Linked DNA regions of Homo sapiens: all the other regions are linked to region 2. Evidence: promoter capture Hi-C in 16 types of primary human blood cells and fetal thymus (Javierre and others, 2016). All regions are on one chromosome and are shown on one strand. The core of a region is centred on a gene start or on the middle of the fragment in contact, and the rest is flanking DNA. Distances in the headings are between cores, read along the strand shown.

Region 1 (4,657 bases), core at 806-3,305, 400 kb after region 2:
ATCTAAAGCTGTTTGATTTTAGGGTTCTTATCCTTTACCTCTATTATGTGGGATCTTGGGAAGCAGGAATTTTTCTGGTTCCCTTCCCGATTCGATTGACCTAGGAAACTAGATTAAAAATCAAAAAGTTACTTGGTGAGAATAGAATTAGATAAAAAGGAGAGGAGACAGTTTTTGAGGCTATTTTATGAATGCCTCTCCTTCCTAACAGCTGGGTGACATTTCTCTGTCACATAGTTCATTCATTCAACAAATATTTTATTTTTATTTATTTATTTTTATTTTTTATTTTATTTATTTTTTTGAGATGGAGTCTCGCTCTGTCTCCAGGCTGGAGTGCAATGGCGAGATCTTGGCTCACTGCAACCTCCGCTTCCCAGGTTCCAGCAATTCTTCCACCTCAGCTTCCCAAGTAGCTGGGATTACAGGCGCCCACCACCGTGCCCAGCTAATTTTTTGTATTTTTTAGTAGAGACGGGGTTTCACCATGTTGGCGAGGCTGGTCTTGAACTCCCAACCTCAAGTGATCTGTCTGCCTCAGCCTCCCAAAGTGCTGAGATTCCAGGCATGAGCCATCACTCCTGGCCCATTTTTATTTTTATTTTGAGACAGGGACTCACTCTATCGCCCAGGCTGGCGTGCAGTGGTGTGATCTCGGCCCACTGTAGTCTGTGCCTCCCGGGCCCAAGCAGTCCTCCCACTTCAGCCTTCCAAGTAGCTGGGACTACAGGTGTGTGCCACCATGCTCAGCTAATTCTTTTTTTGGAGACAGAGTCTCACTCTTGCCCAGGCTGGAATGCAATGGTACAATCTCGGCTCACTGCAACCTCCGCCTCCTGGGCTCAAGCGATTCTTCTGCCTCAGCCTCCTGAGTAGCTGGGATTACAGGGGCATGCCACCATGCCCAGCTAATTTTTGTATTTTTAGTAGAGACGGGGTTTCACTATGTTGGCCAGGCTGGTCTCAAACTCCCCACCTCAGGTAATCCGCCCACCTCGGCCTCCCAAAGTGCTGGGATTACAGGCGTGAGCCACCGCGCCCGGCGGTTTTAGACTTACGTTACAGTGGATAGTGGTGCCCTTCACCATGCTAGGTAACCCTGAGAGAAAATCCAGTTGAAAAGGGTCAGCAGTTTGGTTTTGGATATCCTGTACATGTTGAACAGAGATGTCAGGTCAACAGTTCAGCGAGGGATTGGTATAGTCAGGTCAACAGTCAGACAGAGATGTCAGGTCAACAGTTCAGACAGGGTTTATCTCTGTCGCCAGTATGGAAGCCATCTGTGTATAGGTTAACTTGAGCAAAGAGGGGATGAGAAAGCTAAGGAGAGTCTGTCTGTCTATCTGTGTATTTATCTATTTAGAGATGGTCTCACACTGTCTCCTGGGCTGGAGTGCAGTGGGGCAATCAAAGCTCACTGAAGCTTGGAACTCCTGGTCTCAAAGGAGCCTCTCAAGTACCCAGTACTACAGACGTGCACCACCTACCCAGCTAACTTTTTATATTTATTTTTTGTAAAAACAGGGTCTGACTTTGTTGCCCAGGATGGTCTTGAACTCCTGGCCTCAAGTGGTCTTCTTGCCCTGGCCTCCCAAAATGCTGAGATTACAGGTGTGAGCCACTCAGCCCTGCCTGTTAAGGAGTGTAGAGTGAGAAGAAGAAAGAGCCTAAGATGGCATTTTTGAGGAACTCTACCCTTTACTGGCTGGGTAGAGGAGAATAAGCTTTATAAGCAAAAACACAGAAAAGCAGGAAGAAAACCAGGGCAGCCAGCATTACATAAGCCAAGAAAAGAGGGAGTTTGTTGGTGCAAGTTGGGAAGGGGTAGGGCACCCATGGAAACAATGGTGTCAAATGCTGTAGAGAGGTCAATTAAGATGTAGAGTGAAAATCAGCTGTTGTTAAAACAATTAAGAGACTGGTGGAGTTAGCAGAGGTAGAGAGCAGGCAGGAAGATGAGACAGAAAAGGGGTATAGAAATAGAAGCATGTTTTCAATAAAATTCTTAGTTTGGAGGTACTTTCGTAGTTCATTATATTTTTGTGCTTTATAATGAATATGTTTCAAATATTCTTGTATGTATGAAATAAATATTAAGGCACAAGGGTTGACACTAGAATGAAAGAAAGCCATTTGACAAGCAGATCTAATATGCATTATGCCTAGGACTCTGATCTTGACTCCTAGTCCAGCATGCTTTACCCTCATACCACATTACAGTAACCACTACCTTATCTCCTGCTTCTTGTCCAGCAAGTTTTTCCATATCCTTCTCTGTCCTGCATGGTTTAGTAACTTGCCTCTGTGGGGTTAGTTATGCAGACAGGGTGTGGGTTGGGCAGTATCACCAGGGTCAGGAGGCCAATGTCTCAACCCACCAACTCCTGAAGCTTGGTGTGCTCAGACTGGGCTAATCAGGGCCTGAGGCGTTACACTTTATATTATTCGAATTTAGACAAACCTGCATTTATAACAAAGTCAGTGCGTTAATTACAATTAGGTCCTATGCTTCTAATAGCTGGAATTTTCCTGATTTCTCACTATCACCATCCAACTCCTCATTTTTCTTTCTTCCAGGGTATGTATGTAGATGTGTGTGTGTGTGTGTGTGTGTGTGTGTGTGTGTGTGTGTGTGTGTATTTTTGTTTTTTTGTTTTTCTGAGATGGAGTCTTGCTCTGTTGCCCAGGGTGAAGTGCAGTGGCACGCTCTCAACTCACTGCAACCTCCACCTTATAGGTTCAAGCAGTTTTCGTGCTTCAGCCTCCTGAGTAGCCAGGATTATAGGTGCACACCACCACACCCGGCTATTTTTTTTTCTTTTTTTTTTTTTTTGAGACAGAGTCTCGCTCTGTCGCCCAGGCTGGAGTGCAGTGGCACAATCTCAGCTCACTACAACCTCTGCCTCCCGGGTTCACGCCATTCTCCTGCCTCAGCCTCCTGAGTAACTGGGACTACAGGCGCCTGCCACCCCGCCTGGCTAATTTTTTTATATTTTTAGTAGAGACGGGTTTCACCATGTTAGCCAGGATGGTCTCGATCTCCTGACCTCGTGATCTGCCTGCCTCGGCCTCCCAAAGTGCTGGGATCACACCCGGCTATTTTTTGTATATTTAGTAGAGATGGGATTTCACCATGTTGACCAGGCTGATCTCGAACTCCTGACCTCAAGTGATCTGCCCACCTTGGCCTCCCAAAGTCCTGGGATTATAGGTGTGAGCCATAGCACCTGGCCTGTTTCGTTTTGTTTTTGAGACAGGGTTTCACTCTGTTGCTGAGGCTGAAGTGCAGTGGTATGAACATGGCTCACTGCAGCCTAGACCTCCTGGGCTCAAGAGATCCTTCCACCTCAGCTTCCTGAGTATCTGGGACCACAGATACTGCTACCACATCTGGCTAATTTTTTGACTTTGTAGAGACAGGGTCTTGCCATGTTGTCCAGGCTGGTCTCAAACTCCTGGGCTCAAGTGATCCTCCTGCCTTGGCCTCCCAAAGTGCTGGGATTACAGGTTTGAACCACGGCACCTGACCGAGGTATATATGTATTTTTTTAGCAGTTAAATTAATAGATTGTTTTGTGAGTCTGGAAATTATAGAAGAAGGAAGTAGATTGAGACCAAAGGATAGTTAATAAATTCTATTCCACCGTGTTACCTTGAACGGGCTACTTGATTCCCTGTAGGCCTCTGTCTTTCTTATAAAACAATAGTGTTAATAGTAATTGCTAACACTTACTGAGCATTTACTCTGTTCCAAGCATTAAGTATTCCACATACATTTATCCTTAGACCCTATAAGGTAGATACTGTTTTTATGCCCATTTTAAAGATGAGAATACTGAGACATGGAGAGGAAAAGTAACTTGTGCAAGTTCACATAGTTGGCAAACCTGGGGGCCAAGATTTCAACCTGGCTTCAGAGCCTGTGTTCTCATTCACTGTGGCATATTGACTTCCTCATAGCAAAGCTGAAATGAACAATAAGGCAGTAAAAAAGAAAAAAATTAGATGGACATGGTGACTTATGCCTGTAATCCCAGGACTTTGGGAGGCTGAGGCAGGAAAATCGCTTGAGCCCTGGAGTTTGAGACCAGCCCTGGCAACACGGCAAGACCCTGTCTCTACAAAAATAAAACAGTTAGCTGGGTGTGCTGGCACACACCTGTAGCTACTTGGGAGGCTGAGTGAGGAGGATTACTTGAGCCTAGCAGGTCGAGGCTGCAATGAGCTATGGTTGCGCCATTGCTCTCTAGCCTGAACAACAGAGTGAAACCCTGTCTGAAACACACACACACACACACACACACACACACTCACTTTTGACATAAATATTTATAACACATGAAATCACATAATGAATAGTTTACACTCTGAATCATGCTTTTATCATTCAATGTTACGAGTACTTTTCATGACCCGTGTTTTTAATAATTCTTCATATCATTATTTATAATGGCTGTAAAATATATCTTGTGTTAATTTCTTTAACCAGTCTTCTATTTGTTGGGTATATAGGCAGTTTAATATTTCATTATTACAAATAATGCCACAATTAAATCTTTGACTGAACTTGCCTGCATTTTTTATTGTTTCCTCAGGATCTGAGTTTGAAAGTGCTCATTTCACCTTATTCTTGCCAAGATTTTTTAAATGTAAACTG
Region 2 (4,582 bases), core at 1,911-4,410:
GAGGTCACTGTCAGTTCACTCCATCATGTCACAGATGGGGAAACTGAGGCCTCTGAACAAAGACCCCGAAAGAGACACCCATTGTCTCTAACTGAGACCAATTTCAGACTTGGGTTCTGCCCCTAGGGACAGCTACTCCTGCAACAACTGGCCTCTTCCCGCCCCACTTCAGGTATGAAGCCACCAAGGCTAGTCCCTGACATGTATCAGGGAGTGGGTAGAGTGGATGAAGACTCCGATTTACAGCTCCCAGTGTTCTTGGCCTAGGCCTAAGGTAGGACCCAGGTGTTCCAGGTGCCAGAGCTCAGACCATTAGGGAAGTTCTGTCCCTGTAGCGTATGCTGGAAAGTGGCACAGTCTCTTTCCGCAAAGCAGACATAGGTGTGGGTGTGAGAGGCGGGAGGAGGAGGGGAGACGAGGGAAACTGGGGCCCCACTCACATGATGTTCACAGCCACAGCGCAGCCCGACGTGATCAGCATGGTCCCCCCGTCAATTTCATAGTCCCCAGAGATCAGCCGCTCCACAGCCAGGTACACCAGTACCCCCGTCACGACCCAGATGGACAGTACAGAGACCAGGGCTCCCAAGATCTCTGAGGAAGAACCCAACCCCAACACCCACCTTGGCATGGGCCTGGAGCTAAGGAGTCTTCCCCCTTCCTTCAGGATCCTCCCCACCCACCTCCCACACAAAGTCAGGGCCTGGGTCCCACTGGGCTCTGCTGAAGGTATGGCCGGTATGGCTGCCCCTTACCCCACCCCTCATATATCTAGGAATGTAAGAGCTAGAAGGAACTAATAAGTCATCATCTGAGTCCACCTTTTTGGTTGTACATGTAAAGAAGCTGACTTATTAAAGTATGTGCCTTTTGTTCAGCTAGTAAACTGAGGCTTCTGGGGAAGACAGGCTGGGCCATCTCCCACAAAGAGGAAGGTGACGATGCAGTCCAGGGTGAACGGAAGAGAGGTTAAAGCCTATATCTTCCAGCAGCCTTTGCTGGCCTTCCCCTCCCCCCAGAGCTGATCCACAGAGTTATGTGCAGTGTTAATGCCATTGTCATTTGTTCTTGAAGCTTGGCTACTGCACTTCTTAGGAAGGTCAACTTTGCTTCCCTGCAGACTGAGAGCTCCTGGATGACTGGGACCAGGGCTCCCCCATCAGACTAGGATTTCCCAGAGGACAGAGGCCATGGTTGACATCCTCTTCCCCCATCCAGATCACCCTCCTGGCCTCACTCAGGGGAGGAAGGGGGGATCCACCCATTACAGCCACCTAAGAACCCCTGTTCTAACCCACCCTCTCTCTCAACCCCATCTCCAGCCAAACCGCGATCCTCACCAGCTCTCTGCCAGCCAAAGTTCATGGTCTTGGTGGCTGGCCGGGAGGACATCCAGAGGGAGAAGAGGCTGATGAGCATGCTGGCAAAGTCAGTGAGCAGGTGTGCTGCGTCAGTCATGACAGCCAAGCTGTGTGCCAGGTACCCACCTGCAGGGTGGAGGGTCCTTATCAGCTCCCCCAGAGAGCTGGCTCCCAAGACTGTGTGTGCAGCAGGGAGACCACAGGCTCTGGAAGAGGACATTCTGGGCTCAAGATCTCTCTACCCATGAGCTGTACCACCGTGACAAGTGACCTACTCTCTCTGAGCCTCAACTTCCACTCTCTGTGAAATGGGCCACCAATATCTACTTAGAGGGTGAATGTGCACATCAAGTTCAAATAGGGACTGGAAAACATAGCAGATACTCAGTAAATGCTCTTCCCTTCTAGGAATTCAGGCCTTCCCTTAGCTACGAGTTGTGCGTGATCTTTGGCAAGTTACTTCACCTGAACATGCCTCAGTTTCATCATCTGTAAAGTAAGGAGAATAACGTCACCCATGTGAGAACACAGGTTGTTGTTAGACCTGCATCAGATAATGTGTATATAAAGGCTTACTGTAGTGTGTGTTCAGTAATTGGGGCTTTTAGTGTCAGTATTGCTGGGAACATCCAGTCTATCCATGCACCAACTTCATTTAATTAGCCCAAAAGTGCTTACCAACGACTTCTCCGATCATGAACAACAGGCAGATGGCAGAGGCTACATACAGCTGGCGCTGGGCCTTCCCCTTCTTGGGGTCACAGTGACTGTCAGGACCCTTCTGAGCATGGCAGTGATGGTTGCTCTGGGCAGCCAGCTCAATGGCCTGCAAGTCCAGGCCAGGTCGGGGCAGAGGAATCCAGCCAGCCCCTTCCTGCCACAGAGATCCCGTGTATGACCTGGCCAGAGGGGAAGAGAGGGAACGCTCAGCTCTGAGATGAGGTAAGGAGGGCCGACTCTAGTCCCATTTCTCTGTGAGGCCTTGTGTCCACTGGGAAAAATAGCTAAGGACGCTCCGAGCTCGACAAACCAGAGGTGAGAAGCCTGTATTCAGACGGGGATGATAGGGGAATGGGAGTCCTGGGGCCCGGGGCCCTTCAGAGGCCAGAGGAGGTGAAGACCCTGGGAACCGGCCAAGGGGCGTGCTGTCCAGTGGAGCGCGGGGAAGGAACAGAGCGCAGGCTCTGGGAGAACAGCAGGCCCCCTCCAGCGCACTTGGGACACAGGGCCTCCCCGGGGCGGGGCTGCCTGGGGCAAAGTGCTGGGCGGGGCGGGACTCCAGGCATGGGAACCGCCAATCCCCCGGCCCCAGGCCCCCCGCGGGCAGGGGTCAGAATCTGGGCTGCGCCCCAAGGGAGAGACGGTCCTTGGGCCACAGCCCATTATCTTCGTTCCCTCACCTCACCCCACCCCTCCTGCATGGTCCCAGCTCAAGCCGCAGCCAAAACCAACCACTGCTAGGATGGCAAATGCGGAGGTGCGTCGGCTGCCGCCAAAATTCCCGCCCGTCCCCAGGCTCTCGCCTTACCGGATTGCCGGCCTGGCGTCCAACAGATGCTGCTTCTCCTTGGCCTCCATGCAGTCCCGCGCCGAGTCCCGGCAGCCGCGCAGCCGCCCCGCCGAGTGCGCCCTGAAAGTTGCGCGCGGGACTCCGGGTGGCGCTCACCCACCTGCCCCGAGGGCCCCGCGAGGTGCGCTCACTCCGGCCCGGCTCCTGCGGCCCCTGAGCTCCCCCGGCTCCCGCTGCGGCTGCAGCTCCGGCTCTGGCTCCGCGTGCCAAGCGCTCCCGTGTCTCGGGTCAGCCGCTGCGCCCCGCGGCCGCCGGCTTTATCCGGCCCTCGCCAACCCGTGTGAAGCTGCCGTCGGCGCGTCGTGTGCAAAAGCCCGCGGGGAAGGGGGGGCGGTCGCCGGCTGCAAAAGGCCCGGCTGTGGCCCCGCACACCTGTGCCTGCGCCCATGGGGCCCGCGGAGCCCACCTGCCGGCCGCGAGAAGTTTGCCAGCCTTCGCCCGGCGCGGCGCCGGGTGTTGCTGAGTGAGGACGGGGTGACGCCTGCGCCCCCTCTCCCGCGCGGGGTGCGCCGCCTCGCCGCCGAAAAGTTCTCGACTTTAGTTTGTAGAAATCCGCTTTGGTGGTCCCGACGGCAGGAATGTGGCTCCTTGCCTCGGAAGAGGGTCTCCAGAGGCTACTGGGGCCGCGTCTGCCCCCTCCGACTGGCGGCTGCCCTGGGCTTGATCATGTTCCCCTCTCAGGCCGGAGACCCCCCGAGGTCGGCTTGCGTTCCTGTCCTCCTGCTAGGAGGGTCCTGGGGTGGGGTGGGCTGCGCCGCCCTCAGGCTGGGGCAGTGTCTCTCCCTAGGACCGGCTGGGACTGATCGACCCATCCTCGCCACTGAAGCAGCGCCAGCTCCTCCTCTCCTGCGCGCAGGAGAATCTGGAGTGGCCGGCTTTGTCTCCACCCGCACAGAGAACAGTGTCATCGGCAGTCACCATCGGAGCAGAGACGACCACTGCCACTGCTGCCACCCCTTCTCCCCTCCCCCGCAGCGGCTCCTGGGAGCCCCAGGAAGCCTGACAAGCAAGCCTGGGAGATGCAGGCCGGAGGTGCCACCGTGTTGGTACCGCTGGGAGAAGCCCTGTCCTTCCTGGCCAGCTTGGTGCCCCACCCACTTGAAGCAGCCTCCTTCCCTGGCGGTTCTTGGGGATTGGGGAGCCTGTGGCCCCCACGCTGGCCTCTGACAGGTGCCCTCTGTGTAGAAAGAAGCTGCTGGAGACCTCCCTGTCTGGTCAATTCGTCTCCCCAGCACCCTTTGTCGCTAGGACCATAGGCTTGGTGGGTATGGCCTTTCACAGAGCCAAGAGTCAGAGGTGCAGGCCTCTTGCCCACACCACTGGGGACAGGAAGGGGCTCTTTCAGTCTCTCATCTTGTAGGAGACGGGGTGCCAGGAGTGAGGATGTGAGGTGCACCCGCTCTGCTTGGGTCCTCACTGAGTGCCTCTCTGCTTCTCTGGACTCTGGTTTTCTTCTGGAAAACCTCAGACACCCTGGTTTTCTCCAGGTCTGTCTACTCTGAGCACCAGCAGGCTCAGCATTACCTGGAGAAGGTGTTACAACGCAGGTTACAGGTCCCTGCATCAGACCAACCGAACCAGAATCTCTGGGTGTGGAGCCTGAATATTTCCAGGATTCAGTAGGTCTGGGGCAGGGCCTGGGAATCTGTAT
Region 3 (4,113 bases), core at 692-3,191, 330 kb after region 2:
TTCAAACAACAGAAAATGTAAAAACGAAAAATGGAAGCTCCTCCTCCTTCGCAATTTCCCAGTGGTCAATGTGAATTGTTTAGTGTTTACCCTTCCAGACATTTTTCTATGAACCAACAAACAGGTAAATTGATTTTTTTAATTGCTTTTTTTTTTCCTAAGGAATGAAGTGACTTATTGAAAATGAAAGTACACTCTGCAGTGTGGGAGCAGGCCTGAGCATAGGGGCTCAAAGGCCCCATTACAGAGTTTTTGAGAGTTTAAATACCTTCTGCTTGTGGTACGCCCTATGTAAATGAAGAGAATGAAGTAAAGTTACAATGTCATGTACTCAGGGAGAAGCTATTTCCTGTCAGAGCTGAAGTGTGAATTGGCCTTATGTTTCCTGCCTCCAGCCCCTATTTTCCTGCCTCATCTCCCCGCTAAGAGATGTGATTGTGGTCCCCGTAAATCTTCACGGGAGGCAGAGGGACCGATGGTCTTTTTCCTGGGACTGCTTCATGCTGGCATGGGGCGTAGTCCCTACTTATTGGGGATCATGGAACCCTCACCTTGTTCTGTCTAGTGGAGGCAGGGTAGCTTCTTGATGGCCAGGGGTGGTGTCTTCACCTGGACTGGCTGGAGCCTTTGTTGCATGATCATCTGAAGCTTGATGGCCTCCTTTTGCTGGTATGCCAGGTTTCTGGGCTCTCTTTCCCTGAGCGGCCCTTCCTCCGGGCTGGCTGGCCAAAATATGTCACTGGTGGGGGGTGTCCAGGTTCTTGGCATCTTGAACAAAGAATTGGACAAAAAGCAGAAACAAAGCAACGAAGAAATGAAGGGATTTATTGAAAATAAAGTACACTCCACAGTGTTGGAGTGGGCCTGAGCATAGGGGCTGAAAGGCTAAATTGTGTTTTATACAAACATGGGAATATATTGATGCACATTGCTCTTCCGGGTTTTCTTTTCTTTTCTTTTCTTTTTTTTTTTTTTTGAGACAGAATCTGACTCTGCCTCCCAGGTTGGAGTACAGTGGTGTGATCTTGGCTCACTAGCAACCTCTGCCTCCTGGGTTCAAGCAATTCTCCTGTTCAAGCTGGGACTACAGGCATGCGCCACCAAGCCCAGTTAATTTTTTTGTATTTTTAGTAGAGACGGGGTTTCACCACATTGGCCAGGCTGGTCTCAAACTCCTGACCTCAAGTGATCCACCCACCTTGGCCTCCCAAAGTGCTGGATTACACTTTGGGAGCCACCATGCCCAGTCTCTTCTGGGTTTTCTAATAATCCATTGTGGGCATCATTTCATGCCCTGAACATACCTATCTGCCTCCTGCTTTTTCCTGACTATATAATGTTCCATTGCAGGGTTGTGCTTAATATGTAGCCTTCCCCTGTTGGTGGACATACGGGTGGGATCCAATTTTCCCCTTTCTACACAAGGCTGGAAAAGACCTCCAGACAGAGTCAGTATGCGGAATGGTTAAGAATACGAGCTCTGCTGGATTTAATCCCAACTGGGTAAACTTATGGCAAATCACTTAACCTCTCTGTGCATCTTTCCTCATCTGTCAAATGGAGATAATAATAGCACTTGCCTCATAGAATTATTTCCAGGTTTCCTCAAGATAATCCATGTAAAGCCCTTAGGATGGTGCCTGGCCCAAAGCAAGCACTTGACCAATGTGGATGACTATATTGTACATTACCCTTTACCTAGTTAGGCAAGCATCTGCAAGTCAGCTTCTTAAAAGTGTTAAAATTTTGATGGTTATTCCTGACCCATTTTGGAAGATCGAAATTTGGGCAGCACAATTGGAGAGATTAACTACATTTAGTTTTCTTGCTTTATTTATTGACCCTTCCCTGGTTGGGGATCATTGCTCTCATTCAATGCAGTCTTCTCCTACCCCATCCACACACCACAATAATAATAGCTCTTGGCATGGGAGCCCTCATTATATGCCAGGAACCATGCAAAGCCATTCCACACGCTTTGTCTCACTGGATCAGCAGAGTGACTCTGGGAGATGAATGCCATTATTCCCATTTTAGAGGCAAGAAAACTGACACTCAGATAAGGAAAATGACTCACTTAAGATCAGATGACCTGGCTGGGCGTGGCTCATGCCTGTAATCCCAGCACTTTGGGAGGCCGAGGCGGGTGGATCACCTGAGGTCAGGAGTTCAAGACCAGCCTGGCCAACATGGTGAAACTTTGTCTCTACTAAAAATACGAAAATTAGCCGGGCATGGTGGTGGGTGCCTGTAATCCCAGCTACTTGAGAGGTTGAGGCAGGAGAATCGCTTGAACCTAGGAGGCGGAGGTTGCAGTGAGCTGAGATCGTGCCATTGCACTCCAGCCTGGGAGACAAGAGCAAAACTCAGTCTCAAAAAAAAAAAACCAAAAAACACCACATGACCCCAAAGTGGAAAGCATAGAAACAGAGAGTAGAAAGGTCTTTACCAGGGGCAGGGGCCTGGGGTGTAAGGGAAATGGGAGATGAAGGTCAAAGGGTACAAAGTTGCAGTTACTTAGAATGAATAAGTCTAGAGCTGTAACATACAGCATGAGGATTATAGTTAGTAATATTATATAGTAGACATTTGCTAAAAGTAATTTTAGGTACTTTTACCGCACACACACACAAAAGGTAACTGTGAGGTGATGGATGTGTTAAATTGCTTGACTGTAGTAATCACTTTACTGAGCATATGTGTATCAAAACATCATGTTGTAGATCTTAAATATATACAATTTTAAAAGAAACACATGACCCAAGTTGAGGTTGTAAGTCCCAGAGGTGAGGGAGAGCTTAGGGAAGACTTTCCAGGCATTTGAAGAAGTAAAAAGTGCCACAAATATGTTTGGTAGAAGGGGCTCCCAGAAAAATTAAGACAAACAGAGGCCATCTTGAAACGAGCTGCAGAATTAGCATCTGGTACCCTGCAAGAACGTCATTCATTCACATATTTATTTGCCTTTTCTTTCTTCCTTCCTTTCTTTCTTTCTTTCTTTCTTTCTTTCTTTCTTTCTTTCTTTCTTTCTTTCTTTCTTTCTTGTTGTATTTTGGTAGAGACAGGGTCTGGCTGTGCTGACCAGGCTAGTCTCAAACTCCTGCCCTCAAACAGCCTCCCAAAGTAATTCACATATTTATTAATTACCAGCTATGTGTCAGGCATTGGACTATTTTCTGGGAATACAGCCCATAGAAATATGACTCAGACCTTGGAATTACATTCCGGCTATCAAGAAGCTTGCTGGATGTTGTGAAATGGAAAGTAATGTACATCTGAGCTTATTATTAGGAGGGTAGGGGCTGGAGGAGCAAAGTAGAACTGGGGGTGGGGTTGGCTGACTCATGCACCAAGAAAGGGAGACAACGGAACCACAGCCAGAAGCCCCACTTCCTCCCTGAAAACCTTAAAAACTTCTTCAACCCATATCCATTGCCACCTCCAACCTTGAGGCCAGCCAGCTGACTTCCCAGTCAGCTCAGCACATGGGTCCAGGACCTCTGTCACATGGACACTTTTGAGAGGCACCAGGTAAGGACCCCAGGTCAGGAAGGGATCTGGGACGTCACTGGCTTAGAGGTTAAGCAGCTGTAGGGTGTGCCTCCACAGGCAGAGCTGAGGGTGGGGCTGACAGTGCTCTTGCCTGGCTCTGCTCTGTGGTTGACACCTCCCTCCCTCTGCCTGACACCCACATGCTTATCTCCCCAGACAGCCCAGCTGTCAGTCTGTCAGATGCATTTGAGTTGGCCCTTGGCTTCACACCCCAAGGTGGGGAAGAGATCTTGAGTTAAGGCGTGCCTGCTCTTACATTTGCAGAAGGGGCCTACAGACACTCTTGCGTCTTCCCCTGCACCCATCTGTGACCTTCCAATCCTTCTGTGGGTAAAATTGCAGATGCATCTTCAAATGATATCCAAGGTCATGCCACTTATCCTCAACCATTCCAAGAGAATAGGAGACAAGAGGTCACCTTGCTTGGATTCAAATCCAGCAGAGCTAATGTAATCTGAGCCACTGTGCAAAACTGCCCACCATGTACATGTATGTCCTTTCCAGCCTGGTGTGGAACGGGGCAAAATTAAAGTCCACCTATATGTCTACCATTAGAGGAAA

The links. Contacts are between HindIII fragments. The CHiCAGO score rates a contact against its expected background, and 5 or more counts as called.
Region 1: a fragment that was not itself captured here is called in contact with the fragment with the promoter of SLC30A2 in region 2 in 1 of 17 cell types (M2 macrophages); the score reaches 5.8 in M2 macrophages.
Region 3: a fragment that was not itself captured here is called in contact with the fragment with the promoter of SLC30A2 in region 2 in 1 of 17 cell types (M0 macrophages); the score reaches 5.2 in M0 macrophages.

Annotation. Positions count from the first base shown.
Region 1 is chr1:26,448,814-26,453,470 of GRCh38, forward strand. The region is part of intron 6 of DHDDS (dehydrodolichyl diphosphate synthase subunit); the gene reads left to right. Among named protein-coding and RNA genes, the nearest start is that of DHDDS-AS1, 16 kb to the right of the region's middle. The HindIII fragment of the contact is 666 bases long and covers 1,723-2,388 here.
Region 2 is chr1:26,042,958-26,047,539 of GRCh38, forward strand. SLC30A2 (solute carrier family 30 member 2) reads right to left here and starts at 3,161. Exons shown (of 8, transcript NM_001004434.3): 1 at 2,890-3,161; 2 at 2,040-2,260; 3 at 1,341-1,487; 4 at 441-594. The coding sequence starts at 2,939. RefSeq lists an enhancer at 2,192-2,760. The HindIII fragment of the contact is 10,541 bases long and covers 1,073-4,582 here.
Region 3 is chr1:26,374,920-26,379,032 of GRCh38, forward strand. No RefSeq gene overlaps it. Among named protein-coding and RNA genes, the nearest start is that of ZNF683, 4.2 kb to the left of the region's middle. RefSeq lists a cis regulatory region at 3,119-4,012 and an enhancer at 3,335-3,544. The HindIII fragment of the contact is 2,591 bases long and covers 647-3,237 here.